Linked DNA regions of Homo sapiens: region 2 is linked to region 1. The links are contacts of gene promoters, found by promoter capture Hi-C in blood cells and fetal thymus (Javierre and others, 2016). All regions are on one chromosome and are shown on one strand. Each heading gives the region's core, a stretch centred on a gene start or on the middle of the fragment in contact. The rest is flanking DNA. Distances are from core to core; before and after follow the strand shown.

Region 1 (6,739 bases), core at 4,027-6,526:
CCCAACTGGTGGAGTACTTCTGATCCCGAGGAGCAGGGGCTCAGCCACCCAAAGCCAGCCTCTCCCTGCTCACTTCTCCCCTCAGCCATGCAGGGAGCACCAGCTCTTCCTTCACCAGCTCTTTATTTTTAGGTCTGAATTTGACTTTAATCATTACTTAGCGGATTCTATTTCCAGCCCTTGGATGAAGGGACCCAGAGGAGAGGGGGAAGGGAGGCAGTGCTCCCTGCCGGGCGTTGGGGGTGGCCTGCTCCTCCACCCATCCTGTCCCCAACCAAGGGCGGGGGAAACTGAGAAACACCCAAAGGGCTCTCATCTGAGCCAGGCCAGGCCAGCATCTTGGGGCGGACCCCACCCTGTGACCTCATCCCATCCCAAGCTGTGGGACAGGAGGGCAGTTGTCATGCCCACTTCCCTTACACTAAGACCAGGGAGGAGGAGATACTCCACAGGCCAAAGTTTGGCAGCTGGAGTCTGAAGTCGTGTGCCCAAGGGACCTCTGCACTGAATGGGCCACCTGGGGGAGGACCCCTTCCTTAGGTTAGTCCTGGGCCACCCTAGGGTCATCTGGGGCTACAGTCTCTTAGGCCCAGGGTTGCCAGGAGGAGACTGGTGTCCTGCTACTGCCCACGGGGTGGCTGTAGGAGGGCACTCCCAGTTACCCTGGTCTCCACAAAAGTAGAACAAGAGGAAGCAGGTGTGTCACAGTGATACACACTCAGGTTAGACCTGGGGAACACCTGCTGAGGAGGGGGAGGCTAACATGAGTTTCCCGATGTGTCCAACTCCCTCCTGGGAAGCTCTGGGAGGCTCCAGAATCCCCCTACCCTTAATCTCCCAGCTTCTTTCCCTTCCTTGGCTACTGGAACAGGGTGCGAAGATGAGGCTGGCATGGCTGTTCTTGGGCTGGGGCTCAGGATGCCTGGGTTCCTTGTCTAAGTCTCAGGCTAAGCAGGCCTCTATTTCCTCTGGGAAAATGCCAAGCTGGGCTGACCTAGCCAGAGCTGGGAGGCAGGAGGCAGCCAGGCTCTTACAGAAGAGGCGCAGTGGCTCACGCCTATAATCCCAGCACTTCAGGAGGCCGAGGTGGGTGGATCACCTGAGGTCAGGAGTTTGAGACCAGCCTGACCAACACGGAGAAACCCCATCGCTACTAAAAATACAAAATTAGCCAGGCGTGATGGCACATGCCTCTAATCCCAACTTGGAAGGCTGAGGCAGGAGAATCGCTTAAACCGGGAGCCGGAGGTTGTGGTGAGCCAAGATCGCGCCATTGCACTCCAGACTGGGCAACAAGAGCAAAACTCCATCTCACACACACACACACACACACACACACACAAAAAAAAAAAAGAGAGAGAGAGAGAGAGAAGAGGCCTTGTCTATTTAGCTCTGATGCTGGGAGACCGGAAGGGGAATGGGTGGAGTCAGGTCCCGGACCCTAACCAGCAGCCCATCTTCCCAGGGCCAGCCCCATGTCCTAGGCCAGCCAATCATATGGTAATGGGGAGAAGGGAAGGCAGGCAAGGGCACTGGCCATAGTATTCTAGAACCTCAGGGCCAGGGGGTTTCACAGGGGCTCCTCAGGCGGAGACCACCTCTTTGCCAGGTGAGTGGTCAGTCAACATTGGCCCGTGGCTCAGGCACCTTCCCCACAGGTTGAGGCAGCCAGCAGTGGGCACTCCTTCAACAATGCCAATCCTACTCACAGAGGGAGTGAAGAAAGGGCTGTGCCAGGCACTTTAGAGTCCCTTGGTTAGTTAGTTGACACTGTCCTTACACCTTCCTCTGAAGTAGGTGTTACCATCCTGTTATTTATATCAACGAGGCTCAGCAGGTCAGTGACCTGTCTAAGGTCCCTCTACCCTGGGCCTAAGTGGCATGTCTGGGCCTGGAACCCACATTCAGTTGGGTGCCAAGTTGCTTGTGCCCTCCAACACCCTGGCTGCTTTTGGGACTCATAGTAACGACAACCACAACAGCAACAGAGGGGAAAAATGCACACGCTCCAGTGTATGGGTGATGGCGCTGCAGCAGGCCAGCCTAGAATGTTCTGTAGCTTTTTAGAAGCAACGTTACTTAGACCGCGTAGCACCATGAGAAAATGCCCACAGACGCAGTATTAAATGAAAAAAGGTGTCACGGCACACACACTCCAGTGACAACGACAATGAAGGAAAAGGATGGGGAAAAGACTGGCAGTGAACTCCAAAATGCTAACACAGTCACTGCCTGCTGAAGAAATAGTGGGTGATTTTTGTTTCATTTTCTAAATTTCCTGTAGCGCTGTTTTGTTATTTTCTAAATCAAGAAAATGAGTACATTCATGGTTTCCCTATAATGAGCTCAGATTCACTTCCCTGGGACCCACCTGCTCCCTAGCTCTGGCCCACGTGTCTGGGACAATTTCTGCCATGGGATGCCTTTCTCATTTGGGACAGTCCCTCAGACATATGAGAATCTGTCCCTACTTTCTCTTTCCCAGACTCAGTCAACATCCCTGGCTCTTTGAAGATGACCTGTCAAGGTTTTAAAATCCTTCAAAAGATGGAGCCCAGAACCGCACCCAGGTGGGTCTGCCCCCTTTGGGGGGCAGCCATGTCACACTGTGGATCCTGGGTCTCAACCCCTACCTATACTTGTTTGGAGGAAGCTGCATTCTGTCCCCGAAATTTCCAACCCTTGCCGAGGGCCACTCTGTGTGGCTCAGCCTTTTGGGGTCTGGCCCCCCTGCGGTGGTGAATGGGAACATTTTCTGCTTTTTCCTTGCCCCTGACCCAATGCAGAGAGAAGAGCAGCTGCTTCTGAGAGGGTGGAGGGCACCAAGCTCACCAATGAAAAGCACATCCCTGCACACGTGCCAGCCAGAAGCCAGACTCCTTTCTTCAAAGGCCCTGGGACCCTGGATCACACCTTCACAGCTCACAGTTGGTAAAAAAATAAAATAAAATAAAATAAAAATTAAAAAGGCTGACTGGGGTGGGAGGGAGCTAACCATGTCAGGCTCCAGCCCCAGTCCCTCAGGCTGGAAAGGAAGTTAGGGCTGGGTGTGGGGCCATGTGAGGGGAGTCTCACAGGCCCAGGACATCTGGGTCCCCTCCACTGTGCATGTCAGGACAGCCAGAAAAAAAAGTGAAAAAACAAAAAAACCCTAAATCGTGAGCAGGGACCCAGCAGGACAAAACTGCCAGCAGCTCCAAGGGAGCCCAGACACTGCTCAGCACCCACCAGGGCAATGCCTGCTCTCCTGGGCCAGAGGATCCTGCCAGGCCTCAACCTCACCCCTGCTGTCCTTGCCCTGTTCCTGCTGTGGCCACAACCAAGAAAGACACTGGAACCGCCAGGGTACTAGGAGCTTGAAACAGGCCCCCTGGGTGTCCCCACTCTCACAATGCTCCCATGTCCCCAGTCTGTAGCCTGCTGCCAGTGGAGACAGAGCTTCCACGGTTCCCATGTGACCCCATTTATATCCTGAACTTGGCTGCTCCTGTGCCAGCTGGGCCATAGGTGTGGCGAGTGCTGGGTCAGGACTGACCACCAGGTTGTTTCAACTCAGAGCCGGGGCCAGGACCGGACCTTCCTGCCACACCACACAGATGGCCATACACCACACATTCCCCACATCTCCTGCTAGCTGACCCAGCCACAGCTGGAGCCGGAAGCCCTTTCACTCCCTCCAGCCCTCTGCAGGGAAGCACGTGCTCAACCAACAAGGTCCCTCTGGGGCCGGGCTGGGGGCCTGTGTCCCCAGTGGGTGAAGGTGCCTGCCTGGTTTCCTTCCACCCACAGCCATCCAGCCCTGTATAGCTGGGGATGAAAGGACAGCCAGCCTAACTCCACTAGAGGCCTGGGGTAGCAACTTCTCCCTTTGAGCCTCGGTTCCCGGGTGTACAAAATGGGCGGGGAAGTGAACTGGTAGTTAAGCTCCAAAAAATCTGCTGGCTGGACACACCCCTTCCTGACACCTGGTCTGGGCCACAAAGAGCCTAGGAGAATGGGCTGCCCAGGGTGCCAGAAGGTGGGGGCATGGTGCTAATGCTCCGTTACCTCCCCCCGGGCAGAAGGCCTGCCCAGTTTCCCACCCAAAGATCCCTTGGCTTAGGCCTGGTCTTCTGAGAGGCCAAGGGTGACAGGCTCAGTCCTAGGACCTGGGCTTCTAACTGCTCACCCGAGGTGGCTGGGCCCTGGGCTTGCTTGCAGCCCGCAGGGTCATGGTGGGGTAATGAGGGAGGGGTCAGAACCAAGCAAGCCAGGGCACCTGCGGGGAGGCCCTGTACAGGGAAGGGCAGGGGAGTCCAGCACTCTCTCTAGGGACCTGGCCCATACGGATCCTCTTCCTCCAGACTCCAGCCACCTCCTACTCTGAGCTCCACAGAGGGGGGGACTCGGGATGACCCGAGAAGACGAGTCCGTGGAGCTGCAGGGCAGTACCTCCCTCATGCACTCCCTTCCAATTTGGGTTCTGACAGTGGCTCCTGGGAGAATTCGAACCCGTGCAAGGGAGTAAAGGAGAGAAGGGAGAAGTGGGAGAAGAGGGGAATGGGAGTGGACGCGACAGTGGCAGCAACAGAGACTAGACGCGCGACCTCCACCCTCTTCCCTCCAGGGGACACTCCGGGACGGCCAGGCACTCACCTCTCTTGGGGCACTGCGGTCCGGGCCACCTCGCCGCGGGCGGCATCAGCGGCCTGCGGGACGGTCCATGCGGTCAGGGGGGAGGGGAGGGGCGCAGGGGTCCCCAGGGGGTGCGGTACAAAGAGGTATGGGTGCAAGGAGAGGGGAGGAGGGACCGCCAGGCAGAGGCAGGGGGACGGACGCACGGCCCGGGTCGCGGAGGGAAGAAAGGCGGGGGAAGGGGGCGGGAGGGAGTCGGGGGGAGGAAACAATGTAGCCGGCGCGGCCCCGGCAGAGTTCCGCTTCCGAGCGCCGCCACTGAGGTTCGATTTTGGAACGTCGCGCTGGCTGCCGGGGGCCGCCCCGGACGCTCGATCGGGGCCGCGGGGCTCCTCGCGCTCCACGCCCCGCGGGCTCCGGCGGCCAGAGGCTGGCTGGGGCGGGAGGGACGGCGGGCCGGGTTACGGCCCCGACGGCGGCGCAGCCGGGCGGTCGCCCGGCTCGGACCCCACCCCGGCAGAAGCCCCCGGGCAAGGCGCGGGTGGGGCAGGAGCGGGAGGGCGGCAGCGGGCTCGGCGGCGGCGGCGGCCAACCTCGGCTCGCCCAGGGCTCCGCTGGGAGGAAGCTCGCAGGCCTGGCGAGAGGAAGCGCGGCCCGGATCCTCCGCCCGCGGCAGCGCGCCTGCGCGAGGGGGCCTGCCCGGCGCGCGGCGGGGCGTGGGCCGGCGGGGCGGCGCCCCCTGCCGGGCGCCGGGGGCACTGCGGGGGGTGTGTCCGCGCCCACGCCCTGCCCCCACTTGCCGCCTGGCTGCGTTGAAGGCTCCGAGGGTCTCTCCTCAGCCGGCCTGGGAGCAACCTCCCAGCCTTCTCTGGACGCAGCTTTCCCGCTGCAGAAGCGCTGGGGGCCGGGCCTGGGCCCCTCTCCTCAGGTCTGTTTGTGGAGAGTGGGCCTGATTCGCAGCAGAAAGCCTTCATTCATTCATTCACCAACATTTCCTGGCGCTGACATCGTGGCGGAGCCTGCTCTGGAGTCTATTGGCAAGACCATTTCACTACCGTCAAGGCGTTCTCGGTCGGGTGGGGGTAGGCTGACAGGCCGACAGACAACGGCAAGGAAATAATTGATCAAAGTGGAGAGGTGGTGGACACGGTTCCCAGGAGGCAGAAAGAAAACTAGGGCTAACGGGGAGACCTCACACCTCACAGAGCCGGGACCAGGCAGAGGGAACAGCATGCACAAGGGCGGGGAGTGCGGAGGGAGCTTGGTGGCTTCTGGGATCTAAATATAGCTCAGGCGGCTGCCGCTTGCAGTGTGGGTGGGGGAGAGTGGTGGGAGATGGGTTCCTGCAAACAACAGGGGCAAAAGAGATCCAAAGAGCCTCATGGGACTTTCTTGGAGTTTATGTTCAGCCTGGAGGCAATAAAGAAGTTGTCAGCAGCTCTGTGACCTTGGGCAAGTTACTTAACCTCTCTGTGCTTTAGTTTCCCCATTTGGTAAAATAGGTGATATATAATGGCACCGACTTCTTAAGTTTTTGTGGGGAGGGGAGGAAATGAGTTAATACGTTTAAAGTGCTTAGTATGCAGTAGCTGGCACGTGAGGAGCCCTCCGTTAAGCAAGGGCTGTTACATCACTGTTAACGAAAAGCAGGGAGATGACCTGCTCTGAGCCACAGGAGAGGACAGCGTGCTCAGGCATGACAGGGGTGGGAGAGTGCAGGGTGGCGGGGGAACAGAATGGGGATGCAGTGATGAGGGTGAGACCGGGGAACAGAATGGGGATACAGTGATGAGGGCGAGACCAGAGACTCCAGCGTAGGGAGGAGGTAAAGGTGGGGGACTTTCTAGGGACTAGACCCTGAAGCAAGGGTCAGGCTTGGGTGGACAGAGGGAAGAGGCACTCTTGGGGTTGGGGGGGAGGAAGTGGGGCATGCTGACAAAGTCTTGGAACACAAAATAAGCATGAAGAGGCCCGAGGGAGCGAGAAGAGGGCAAACAGCCCTGTGGGAGACGGAGCTGGGAGACAGTGTGGCTGCAGATTGTTTTAAAGAGCCTCGGATGCCAGGAGGAGTTGCCCCCAAAACCACAGGTCGGCCCTCTGACCCAGGGCACCCTTAGGCCGGTTT
Region 2 (6,649 bases), core at 3,649-6,148, 780 kb after region 1:
CCATCACATTCCAGCCTGGGTGACAGAACAAGAAACCAAACATCAAAACCACTTGAAAATTTTAGAAAACACTATTCTCTAAAACTTTTCAAGAGAAAAAAATTTCTTTTTTTTTTTTTTCGAGTCAGGGTCCGGTTCTGATGCTCTGGTTGGAGTGAAGTGGCACCATCACAGCTCACTGCAGGCTCAAATTCTTAGGTTCAAGCAACCCTCCTGCCTCAACCTCCCAAATAACTGGGACTACAAGCATGTACCACCGACCATGCCTGGCTAATTTTTTTTATTTTTTGTAAAGATGAGGTCTTGCTATGTTGCCCAGGCTGATCTCGAACTCTTGACCTTAAGCAAGAGAACCTTTTTAAGAAAAGACTGAAATGAAATTTGAGAAATGATTGACTATGAGAACACTAATGAAGTTATCAAAGTTATGGCATACAGCCAAAACCATATACAGAGAACTTATGCCTTAAAAGAGTTATTATTAGGCAGGGCATTGTAGCTCACGCCTGTAATCCCAGAACTTTGGGAGACTGAGGCGGGTGGATCACTTGAGGCCAGGAGTTCGAGACCAGCCTGGTCAACATGGGGAAACCCCGTCTCTACTAAAAATAAAAAAAATTAGCCAGGCATGGTGGTGGGCACCTGTAGTCTCAGCTACTGGGGAGGCTGAGGCAGGAGAATCACTTGAACCCAGGAGGCACAGGTTGCAGTGAGCCAAGATCTACCACTGCACTCCAGCCTGGGTGACAGAGGGAGATTCTCAAAAAAAAAAAAGTTATTATTATTAAACAATAAAGATTGCAAATAAATGAATTATAAGTTCAAGAAGCTAGAAAATGAATAATGACAAAAGTTAGAAGGAAGAAAATGACAAAAATAAAATGATCAAACAGAAAGAAGGAAAACATTAAAATCAGTAAGCAATCTAAGGAAAGACTAAAAGTACAGTACTTTGAAAAGACTGCTAAACCACAAATATACAACATCAGAAATAAAAAAAGGGGGTATAGTTACAGGCATATAGGAGATTTTTAAATAATGAAAGATAACTCAGGATGAACTGGAAAATCTTCCAAAAATCTGACACAAGAGCCAAAACAGATTAATGCCATGGCAAAAATGGGAAAAGTTCCCAAAAATCTACTATAAAAAAGGCACCAGTTCCAAGATGGTTTTTCAAAAAACTTTTATAAGCCTAAATTTCTTATATTCTTCAAATTGTTCTAGAGCAGAGAAATTATAATAGAATTTTAACATTCACTGAGTATTTAATATGTGCCAGGCACTACGCTAAACAATTTATATGTACAGTTGGCCCTCAGTATCTGCAGGTTACGCACCCGTGGATTCAACAAATCTTGGATCAAAAATATTCAGGCGAAAAAAAATCAATTAAAAAAGTACCACAATAAAAAAATATACAAATTCAAAAATATAGTAAAACAACTCTTTACATAGCATTTACATTGTATTAGGCATTATAAGTAATCTAGAGATGACTTAAAGTATACAGGAGGGGATGGGTACAGTGGCTCACACCTGTAATCCCAGCACTTTGAGAGGCCTAGGGAGGGTTGCTGCCTGAGCCCAAGAGTTCTCAAGACCAGTCTGGGCAATGTCGTGAAACCCTGTCTCTACAAAAAATTTAAAAATTAGCTGAGTGTGGTGGTGCACACCTGCAGTCCTGTATAATCTGGTGGCTGAGGTGGGAGGATTGTTTGAACCCAAGAGATTGAGGCTGCAGTGAGCCACGAGTGCAGCACTGCACTCCAGCCTGGGCGACAGAGCAAGACCCCGTCTCAAAAAATAAAAATAAAATAAAAAATAAAGTATACAGGAGGATGTGTAGAGGTTATATACAAATACTATGCCATTTTATATCAGAGACTTGAGCATCTATGAATTTGAAACAGACTCCCATGGATCCCGTGGGATGGCTGCATTATCACGTTCAAAACATGAAAGCTTACAAATTCATTAAGAAATTAGTATAAGGCTGGGCATGGTGGCTCATGCCTGTAATCCCAGAACTTTGGGAGGCCGAGGCAGGTGGATCACCTGAGGTCAGGAGACCAGCCTGACCATTATAGTGAAACCCTGTCTCTACTAAAAATGCCAAAAAATTAGCCAGGCATGATGATGTGCACCTGTAATCGCAGCTACTTGGGAGGCTGAGGCAGGAAAATGGCGTGAACCCGGGAGGTGGAGGTTGCAGTGAGCCGAGATCGCGCCACTGCACTCCAGCCTGGGTGACACAGCGAGACTCCATCTCAAAAAAAAAAAAAAAAAATTAAAAAAAATTTTTTAAATCCAAAAGATAGAACCAGAGATAAAGCCAATTTCTCCTAATTTATTGCAATTTCAATCAAAATCCAATAAATATGTAAGTTTTAAAACTGCATAAATTGTAAGAGCAAAAGAAATGCATACATTTTTTTCTTTCGAGGAATTTGTTCCTGAATTCTTTAATTAGTCCCTTAATTCCTCAACGGAAACAACAACAACAACAGGCAAAGGACCTAAACAGGCCACTCGCAAATGCAGAAACACAATGGCCAATAAACAAGTGGAAAGCCACTCAACCTTTACAATAAGCTAAGAAACGTGGTGATACCAGCTGTTGAGGAGTCGGAGGGGAAAGCTTATTCTGATAGTGTGGGAAGTTTATCCTAAAGCAGGAAACAAATCACAGTCAGTTTAGCAGATATGTAGTTCAGCAAATATGTGGTTTAGCCATATATAGTTCTGAGTTGTCAAAAACCAGCGAAAAATGCTTTCATTTTGCAAGTGGATCTCTAAGAACCAAGAAGCGCCTTCTATGAACAATCTATTGCTAATGGTGAAAAGTTCACATAGTTATGCTACCTTTTTGGCTAAAAGAGGGAAAATAGGACCTGATAAGATTGCTCCTACCTGCATATATATTCGTAAAGAAACTCTCAGAAGAAACATTCAAAACTAGTAACAATGGCTACCTGTGGATGGGAAGAGGGAGAAGTGGTGGGAATTAGGCAGTTGGGCATGGACAGAAGATTGCACTCTCTCTCTCCTCTTTACAAATTTTGTTCGTGAACTGTACGAATGTATTACCTATTAAAAAACTGAGTTAAAATCTGTTTAATAAAAATAATTACAACTGGATGTGATTTTTTTTCCCCATACAGACATTCTCAGATAGCGCTGCCTGGTGTTAATGGTTTCAACTTTTCAGACAGAAACTAACTACTTGTCTCTGATCCTAGAATCCAGCCTTACTGAGATTCCGTGTCAGTGCTCTCGGAAAATTCCACTAAATTCTAAAGGGCAGTTTGGTAACATGTATCAAATGTAGAATTCCCGTCCCCCTACACCCAGCAGTGGCACTTCTAAAAATTTATCCTAAAGAAGTTACTGGATAAAGATGCAAAGATGATTCTGCAGCATTATTTATTACAGGAGGAAACTGGAAACTTACTATCCACCTGCGTGGGGACTGGCAGCATAAATTGTGGTCATCAACACGGACACTGCATATCTGCAGACCACATTTAGAGTTGCAAGGCCCCAGAAGCTCCTTGTCCTCAGCTGTGTGACTCTTTGGATCTTTGCTCCTCTCGCCCTCTACCTGGTACTTGGATGCACCACCCCACCCTGTGCCGGCCTACTCACCTGGTCAGCGTAGGGGTGCGGTGGTTGGGGTTGGAGCAGAAGATGTTGTTGGTCTTGCGGGTGCCGTCCAGGAACTCACGCACCGACTGGTTGCGCAGCTCTGCTAGGGGCCGGGCCTCGTGCTTGAGGAACCACTGGTGTGCCTCGAAGCACTTGGCGCAGAGGAGCTGCTCGCACTCAAAGCACCAGAAGTCGGCCGACTCTTTGCAGCGGGTGCACACAGCCTGCGCATCCACAATCTGCCGGTACACCGACAGGCGCCGCTGCAGACTCTCGAAAAAGACGTTATCCAGGGCGGGTGTGTCTGCACCTAGGGGCCAGGGCGCCTGGCAGATGGGGCACTGCATGCCCGACGCCTCCAGGCATCCTGAGCACAGCGTGTGCAGACAAGGCAGCAGCTTCGGGCACTTGGCTTCCGCCTGGCATTGCTGGCAGCGCAGAAACTGGAACTCCTCCTCCGAAGCGGGGGCTCGCTGGGGGACCAGAGAGGCAGGTGAGGCCTGGAGAAGTCCCAAAAGCCCCCACCTACCGGCCAACCACCCTTACAGCTGGACCCTGGAGTAGGACCTCATATTCCATTCCAGCCAGTCATTGGATGATGCAAAACCCTGGCTTATCAGCACCCCAATACCCCCATTTATTCAGGCCCTCCAGCTCTCACTGCACCATTTATTGAGCATCTACTTCTCATCACCCACAGTAATAGGCTCTGAGATATAAGAGGTGTAGGATACATTCTGCCTTCAAGGAACTCAGTTTGGAAGGTAGATACACTAAGTACCAACCTCATATAAAGTGCTTAATGCACAGTTTGGGGGTTCATTAAAGAGGTAAGCATGGAACAACAATATGACCCAGAAATTCCACTCTTAGATATATAACCAAAAGATGTAAAAACAAGGCCCAAACAGATACTTGTACAACAATGTCCACAGCAACACTATTCACAATAGACAAAATGTAGAAACAATCCAAGTATCCATCAACAGATGAATAGATAAACAAAATGTGGTCTACACATATAATGGAATATTACTCAGCGTTAGAAAGAAATGAAATTCTGATACATGCTACAACATAGATAGACCTCAATGACATTATGCTAAGTGAAATAAGCCAGTCACAAAAGGTCAAACACTGTATGATTCTGAGGCAGGAGAATAGGGTCTGGAGGCAGGGAACCTAAGGCCGATTCCCTCTGACTTCCTAGAACTAAATCGAAAGGAAAACCGCAACTCTCCATGCCTCAGTAACAAAAGGAAGAGAGGCTACTCTCTTTGCAAATCACCCCATTTCCTGCAGGGCAGATGGAAAATTGAAAGTACGTCTGGTTGGTTGCTTTCTGCAACCAATGGGGTGAACACCAAGTGGCCAATGGGAAACCTCTAGGGGGTATTTGGAACCCAGAAGATTCTGTAACTGGGGTCCTTGAGCCCTGCTCTAGCCGCTCCCACCCTGTGGGGTGTACTTTCATTTTCAATAAATCTCTGCTTTCATTGCTTCACTCTTTCCTTGCTTTGCTGTACATTTTGTCCAATTCTTTGTTCAAAATGCCAAGAACCTGAACAATTTGCAGTCAAGATCCTCTACTGGTAACAATTCCACTTACATGAAATATCTAGAATAAGTAAGTTCATAGGGACAGAAGGTAGATTAGAAGTTACCAAGGGCTAGGGGAAGGAGAAAATGAGGAGCTATTGCATTACTGGGGCTCAGGACACACCACTTCAAAGTATGACTGCAGGAGGCTCTTGAAATATACTTCTTTGGCATATTTTAAGCTGGTTATTCTGAGAAACTGCTGATACAGGAATAGCTCTGAAAAGCTCTCCTTTTGTAAAAAAGAAAGGCATTTATATCTTAAAAGAAAATCTACATTAGTAAAATGATCTATATTAAAAGAGGGCTGCTCCAGACAACTTTTATTATCTAAGAACTTTTAATCTACATAGCAAGACAACCTCTATTCACCAAACAGCTCCTCTCCTCACCCTCCCATAACTTGTGTTATCACCATCACCCAGAAGCTCCAAGCTCTTTTCCGTAGCTCAGGATGTTATACAGGCTTCAATCATCTGACCTTTCTTTGAGTCTCATATATTGTGGGACTCCTGAGTATACATATGTAATTAAATATGGGTTTTCCGCTGGTAATCTATTTTATGACTATTTAATTCATAGGCTATTTAATTCATAGCCCAGCCAAGGAAACTAGAAGGGTGGAGGCAAGCCATCTTTCCCTCCCCTATGGTTTAAAGAGTACAGAGTTTCTGGAGTAATGAAAAAGTTCTGGAAATAGATGGTGGTGATGGTTACACAATATTGTGAATCTACTTAATGCCACTGAATGGTACACTTATAAATGGTTAACATAGGAACTTATCCATTAGGTATATTTTACCACATTTTGTAAAATACAAAAACAGGCCGGGCATGGTGGCTCATGCCTGTAATCCCAGCACTTTGGGAGGCCGAGGTGGGTGGATCACGAGGTCAGGAGTTAGAGACCAATCTGGCCAACATAGTGAAACCCCATCTCTACTAAAAATATAAAAAATAGCCAGGTATGGTGGCGTGGCCTGTAATCCCAGCTACTCGGGAGGCTGAGGCAGGAGAATGGCGTGAACCCGGAAGGAGGAGGTTGCAGTGAGCCGAGATCGCACCATTGCACTCCAGCCTGGGCGACAGTGTGAGACTCCGTCTCAAAAACAAACAGATAAACAAACAAACAAAAAACAAAGCAAAACAAACAAACAACAACAAAAAAAAACCAAAGTGCTTAATACAGTACCTGGCACATTTGAAGTGCTCATAAATGTTACCTAGTATTGTTAAGTAATGTTATTCTTAGTTGTAATAATGTTTATAAAAGTTACTGTAATACGGTGTCCTCTGTACTTTCATGAAGGGGAGTAAAAGGGCCTGAAAGGCAGCAGAGCAAGAAACCCAAGTAGTTCCTTTGTCGGGGGAGGTGGGAGGTGGGCAGGAAAGGTGTGGCAAG

The links. The method cuts DNA at HindIII sites, captures the fragments that hold promoters and counts their contacts. A CHiCAGO score of 5 or more calls a contact.
Region 2: a contact is called between a fragment that was not itself captured here and the fragment with the promoter of CSK in region 1, in 3 of 17 cell types (non-activated CD4 T cells, fetal thymus and total CD4 T cells). The highest score is 6.5, in non-activated CD4 T cells.

What each region holds. Positions count from the first base shown.
Region 1 is chr15:74,780,617-74,787,355 of GRCh38, reverse strand. It overlaps CSK (C-terminal Src kinase), which reads right to left and starts at 5,276. Exons shown (of 13, transcript NM_004383.3): 1 at 4,636-5,276. RefSeq lists enhancers at 1-148, 2,917-2,976, 3,999-4,574, 5,617-5,686, 5,707-5,826 and 1 more and silencers at 4,807-5,066, 5,177-5,396. The HindIII fragment of the contact is 10,374 bases long and covers 1-6,739 here.
Region 2 is chr15:73,995,476-74,002,124 of GRCh38, reverse strand. PML (PML nuclear body scaffold) reads right to left here. Exons shown (of 9, transcript NM_033238.3): 2 at 3,649-4,121. Among named protein-coding and RNA genes, the nearest start is that of PML, 4.1 kb to the right of the region's middle. RefSeq lists an enhancer at 4,035-4,537. The HindIII fragment of the contact is 4,510 bases long and covers 2,644-6,649 here.